Regions from separate parts of the Homo sapiens genome. Here region 1 is linked to region 2. Evidence: promoter capture Hi-C in human tissues and cell types (Jung and others, 2019). All regions are on one chromosome and are shown on one strand. Each heading gives the region's core, a stretch centred on a gene start or on the middle of the fragment in contact. The rest is flanking DNA. Distances are from core to core; before and after follow the strand shown. Region 1 overlaps CHSY1 (chondroitin sulfate synthase 1). Region 2 holds the start of ASB7 (ankyrin repeat and SOCS box containing 7).

Region 1 (2,700 bases), core at 172-2,671, 640 kb before region 2:
GGGAGGCCGAGGTGGGCGGATCACAAGGTCAGGAGTTCGAGACCAGCCTGACCAACATGGTGAAACCCTGTCTCAACTATAAGTACAAAAATTAGCTGGGCGTGGTGGCAGGTGCCTGTAATCCCAGCTACTCGGGAGGCTGAGGCAGGAGAATCGTTTGAACCTGGGAGACGGAGGTTGCAGTGAAATCACGCTGTTGCACTCCAGCCTGGGCGACAGGGCCAGACTCCGTCTCAGAAAACAAAAAAAAAGACTATTAAATCCTTTCTGGTTTTCCCATCCAAAAATAACCACGGTGAATACTTTGGGGGTGGAGTTGTACGTTATTTTATTTTTGTATATGTACTTTTGTTCCCTTGGTAAGCCACATCACAAGTATATACTGTTGCCTGCTTTTTAAGCTTACCCGTATATTATGAATATTTACCTAGGACAAGAGTCATGCTATAGATGCAGTTTTGTACAGAAGTGTATTTTATGTAGTTTTTCTTAAAACAACACTGAATGGAAATGGAGACTATGATATTAACCCATTTATGCCTAGAGTTCCATTATTGGAACGCTAAGCTTGTGGGAGTTATTTATATCCCGCTCAAGGTTATCACCAAAGTCTGATTTTTTTTCCACACAAAAAAATCGCAACCTCTGACATAAATGGGTTAAGTCCTAACCAGCAAAGGCATTCCTTAGCTAAGCTAATACTGGTCCAGCTGAATTACTTAACTGTGATTTGACTCAGTGTAGGAATAGCGTTTAGAAACCTAGAGTGATGGAGGATTCACTTGGCACTCTCAAGTTTCAGCTGTCTTATCTGGGCTTGAGCAAGGGTTGGACATCAGTTCATTGAAAATGAGCTTTTTCTGGCAAGGCCTCTGCAAACGTTTTGTCATTTCAATTAAGTGAGAGTTCTTTGCTCCCGGTAACAAATGTGTTGATGGCAAAGCTGACGTTTGCTTATGAAAATGAAGGAACTGGACTTGTTGATATTGCAGAAGAGGGGACAGCTTGCTTCTTTGGGAGCATTCCCTTCAATTATTTGAAATTATTAATGCATCCCCTCCTCCTCCTCAGGATGGTGGTGAATCACGATTTATGTTCCTGAACTCGTTCACTTTGTGGAGCTCTTCAAGTTAAAGGACCCTAATTGAAAAGATTATAATTTCTTAAGATTGGAGGGTTTACAAAGACTTGACATTGAGAGATTTCCCTCAAACCAACCACCAGTCATTTAGAACAGAAAAGGACAACATGAGGTTTTTCCCTGAGTTACCTAAAAAGGAACAGATAATAATTGGGTGGAGTTACCATAAAACTGTAGGGTTGAGGTTAGACTGTTTTTAAAATTAATTGGTTTCTCTTCTTGGGCAAATTACACCATTTCAGTCATAGTTGAGACATTAATTGCGTCTGTGCTGGTTGTACTGCTGGGGCCTCTTTCACTGTGTTCTTCCTGGTGGGGTACACGGGAAGCAGGGCCAAACTATAATGAAGCTTCATCCTCAGTCTAGTAGGGAAGTTTCTCGTGCTCTACCGCGAAATGCTCGTGAAATTTGCAGTTAGGCCTCTTTCCTGTAACATTGTCTGAAGTTGATAGTAAAAGAGGATTTCAGTACATAGCTTGAGGCTCAGGTTTTAAGAAGCATTTTCCACATTACCTTTGCTCCGTGTGCTCCTGAGACTGACTAGTCCACGTGGAGCCCACACTTTCCTGTTCTTTCACTACCTTATTTGATTTGCAAACTCTTGTCTTCCTTAATAATAAGTCATACTTACATAGTGCCAGGCAGGCTTCTAAGCTGTTTACAGAGAGCTCATTTAACCCTCACAACAACCCCCGTTTACAGATAAGGAAACTGAGGCACAGAGTAACTTGTCCCAAGTGGAGCTGGAGTTCTCGCCCCCATGGCCTGATTCCAGAGCCAGCTCTTGCGGTGATGCTGTAGATTCGCCTCCTTAGTTGGTTGTTCTTTGAAGGCAGGAATTGTCTCGCCCACCCCATCTCCCAAATAACATTACAGTGTTTTAGTATTTTCATGGCTTCCTAGGTTGAAAATTTCTCAAAGTACAAGATAGAAATGATTTCTGACCTTTTGCAAACACGTGTGGCACCATTAAGTTACTTATTGTACATGAGTGGGCAGTATTCAGTGCACACATTTAGTGACCTCTATTATGTGCCAAGCACTGAAATTATTTACATTTTCAAAGAATTGTTGCGACTGCCAAATGAAAAACATTTCTCTATAAAGAGAGCATTATCAGGGGCTCCTCGACTTGAATGGGGGGTCATTGCACTATAATTTTGTCCTTACTAACTTCCCAAGGCTGGAGGAGTTCTGAGAAGTTATCTCCCCTCCATATGTCACCGCATCAGAAGACTCTGTATAGCTTGTCACACATTCACACATTGTCGCATTTGCAAAAGGACTTGTCCCTTTGTAGGTGGGATTGGTTTTTCTTTAAATTAATTTCCACATCTCTACGTTTATTCTACATCCTTTTTCTTCAGGAGCATATCCTTTGTGAAAATGAAGTGCAGTACCTAGAACAGTATCTGTTAATAACCGTGGAATGAATGTCTGGGCTGAATTTGTTTTTTGTTGTTATTCTTGTTCTTTGTTAATGAGTTATTTAAGTGGCGTAAGAATACAGGTCCATTTTAAATCCATAGGCACTAAGGGAAAACATTAACAACACCAT
Region 2 (2,877 bases), core at 116-2,615:
CCAAAGAGTTAATTATGCCTAAGTGCTTCAGGGTAATAATGTTGTCTTCATACCATTCACACTCTTAAGGTACACAGGTTGGCTTTCTAGTAGGAAATAAAATCAAACTATTTTCTGAAACTCATAAATCTCAGGCCAATAATTTACCTTTCTCTACCAAATCGTTGTCAGTTAGATAACTCAAAAGATTTTTCTGATGCAGGTAGAAGAAAGGTGATAGGAAAGAGTAAGGGGGAAAACAGTAAATTGTGGTTTAATTAAAAAGGAAAGTCATTCAGAATTAACAAGCAATTAACAAGGAATTGAGGAATTCCTATGAGAGTAAGGAAGGGAGGGTAGCTACAAAAAGGTCTCAAAGCCTCAGAGCAGAGTAAATGGCACAGTGTACCAAAAGATAATGAAAAACACAGAAACACACTGTACAGAAAGAAAGTGGGAAAATACTGTCCTGGGTAGAGAAGTTATAAAATGTTAAGTATCAGGCACGGGTAATGTTTTTGTTTTTCCTGGGAAACTGGGGGTGGGGGTGGGGGGGGTAGGAAAGGTTGCATTCCCAGGCAACCACCCTGAAAATAAACCACTGCTTAATGAGGTAGGGGCCAGGAATAAACAACGGGGGAGGGGAGGGCTGGCTCATTACCTTTACAGACGATGCTGGTCAGAGGCACTGTGCCTTCTGCTTCTCTGATAGGTGGGCAGACCTCTTCCTGCTTTCGCGTCTTCTTCAGCCAGCTCAAACCTAGAAAAACAGAAACCAGTGAGTGGTGTAGTGTCTCAGAGGTGGGGAGGGGGGAGCTCAGGAAAGGGGCTGGAGAGTGGCAAGGGCAGGCAAGAAAAAGCAGAGATTTTCCTCCCTCCTACCCTCCCAGCCAGCACTCTTCCCCTCGGGGGAAGTAAAGGACTTTACCTGTCTCCTCAGCTGCTGCTTCTCTTCCTCCTTTCAGCCTCCTCTACACTCACCAACTTCTCCATTGAAGAAATACCCCAGGCAGGGCCGGACCCTGGTGTTCCTGATCCTCCTCGGTGCCTCACGGCCCCAGCCCGGCGAACATCCGAACAGCCGAGAAGGCAGGAGGTGGCGATCCCGGCCGCCGGGCAGCCTTGGGGCAGAGGTGCAGGGAGGCAGGGAGGAAGTCCTGGCTCGGGTGGGGGGGCAGTCCCGGTCCAGGGCTCGGAGCAGGGGGCTGCCGCGCTCCGGGCCGGAGGCTTCCAGCTACGGAGGGACCCAGGAGGTCTCGGGACGGCGAGGTCCCAGGTCATACGGGGCCCGAAGTGCCAGCCGTGGGGTCTCCGGACAGGGGGCTTTCGGGATGCACTTTGCACTGGGCCACCCCCGCCCCCTCCCTTCAGCACTTTGGGGTCACTGGGATGGGACCAAGCCTTCAACAACCAATCAGCGCCCGCAGTGGAGCCTGAGCCTGGAGCCGTAAACCAGGTCCGGGATGGGTGGGGGTGGAGGGAGTAGGGACGACTTGGTTGGTTGGTTGCTTCCTTCTCTCCTCCTTACCCCCGGCAGCCCCCACCCTCTGCCTGCCGTAAAGTTGCCTTTGCATTCGCGACAGTTAAGGGAGGCGTGCCGAACGGGGCAGAGATTCGTCTCCGATTGGTCTCACTCACTTCCCCTTACAGCTTCCCCGTGGTGGCTTCCGAGGCTCCGCCCCTGGCGGAGGGACTCAAAGCCGTTGCTAAGAGACACTATTCGCCGAAGGCGGTCTCTGCGCATGCGGGAGGAGGTGCCAGCTTGTACTTTCTGTGAACTACGGTGGCCCAGAGCGGGCATTTGTGTTCCCTCAAATGGCGGTGTGAAGAGAGTTCGCCTGAGCCAGATCCCAGGCAGGTAACCGGGACCGGCCGCCGTGCTGGCAGCAGGGGAGGCACGAGTGCGGCCAAATGAGAGCCTGGTTCAGGGCTTAAGGTTGGGAGGGCGGCAGGCTCCAGGAAGCGAGTAGAGGGGTGCCTTGTTTCTCCGCCCCTGTTCAGCGCTTGTCAGACGCAAGTGCCCGGTCTTGGCGCGGCTGTCGGTCCTTGAGACCCCGTTAGCTTCCAGGCTGGCAATGCCTCGCCTGAAGTGGGAGAACGGACTCTCTTTGGGATAGCGATGACGATCCAAGGACCTTCCTGAAAGGATAGCAACGTTGGCGGGTTCCTGTGAATGAATGGAGAGGGGTCGTGGGGAAAACGCGAGATAGACTGATCAAGACACGTTTGTTAAGCACTTTATTCATTAGCAAGTGTTTACTGGCCACTGTTCTAGTCCCTGGGGAGACAACAGTGAACAAGATAGTGATTTCGGGGAAACAAACACAAAATTATCAGATAGGGATGGGTTATATGAGGAAAATCAAGCAGAATGGTGGAATCGATTTTGACCAGGACGTGATGGGCTGTATTAGATAGGTAGTGCTATGGTGTGAATATCTGTCCCCTTCAAAACTCATGTTGAAATTTAATCCCCAATGTGGCAGTACTGAGAGGTAGAGTCTTTAAGAGGTGGTTGGACCGTGAGGGTTCTGTCTTCACGAGTGGATTGATCTATTCATGGATTAATGGGTTATCACGGAGGTAGAACTGGTGGCTTTTTAAGGAGAGACTTGACAACTCGTGAGCCTGCTCAGCCCCCTGGCCACGTGATACTTTGCGGTGCTGTCTCGTGGTCCGTCAGTCTTAGACTTCCCAGCCTCCAAAACTAGACAATAAATTACTTTTCTTTATAAATTACCGAGTTTTAGGAATTATTTTATAAGCAACAGGAAACGGACTAAGACAGATAGGAAAGGTCTCTGAGGAAGTGACATTTGAGCAGGGATCTGAATGACAAAGAGCCAGCCATGCCAAGATCTAGGGAGAGAATTTTGCCAGCAGAGAGAATTAGAAATG

Evidence for each region. The method cuts DNA at HindIII sites, captures the fragments that hold promoters and counts their contacts. A contact is called where the count stands out against the background at its distance.
Region 1: a contact is called between a fragment that was not itself captured here and the fragment with the promoter of ASB7 in region 2, in 1 of the 25 tissues and cell types used here (mesenchymal stem cells).

The regions. Positions count from the first base shown.
Region 1 is chr15:101,238,649-101,241,348 of GRCh38, reverse strand. All of the region lies in intron 1 of CHSY1 (chondroitin sulfate synthase 1), which reads left to right. Among named protein-coding and RNA genes, the nearest start is that of CHSY1, 12 kb to the left of the region's middle. RefSeq lists an enhancer at 1,456-1,505. The HindIII fragment of the contact is 3,239 bases long and covers 1-2,700 here.
Region 2 is chr15:100,601,077-100,603,953 of GRCh38, reverse strand. It overlaps ASB7 (ankyrin repeat and SOCS box containing 7), which reads right to left and starts at 1,365. Exons shown (of 6, transcript NM_198243.3): 1 at 908-1,365; 2 at 641-739. LINS1 (lines homolog 1) reads left to right here and starts at 1,770. Exons shown (of 7, transcript NM_001040616.3): 1 at 1,770-1,833. RefSeq lists silencers at 583-632, 1,083-1,342 and an enhancer at 1,513-1,852. The HindIII fragment of the contact is 8,332 bases long and covers 1-2,877 here.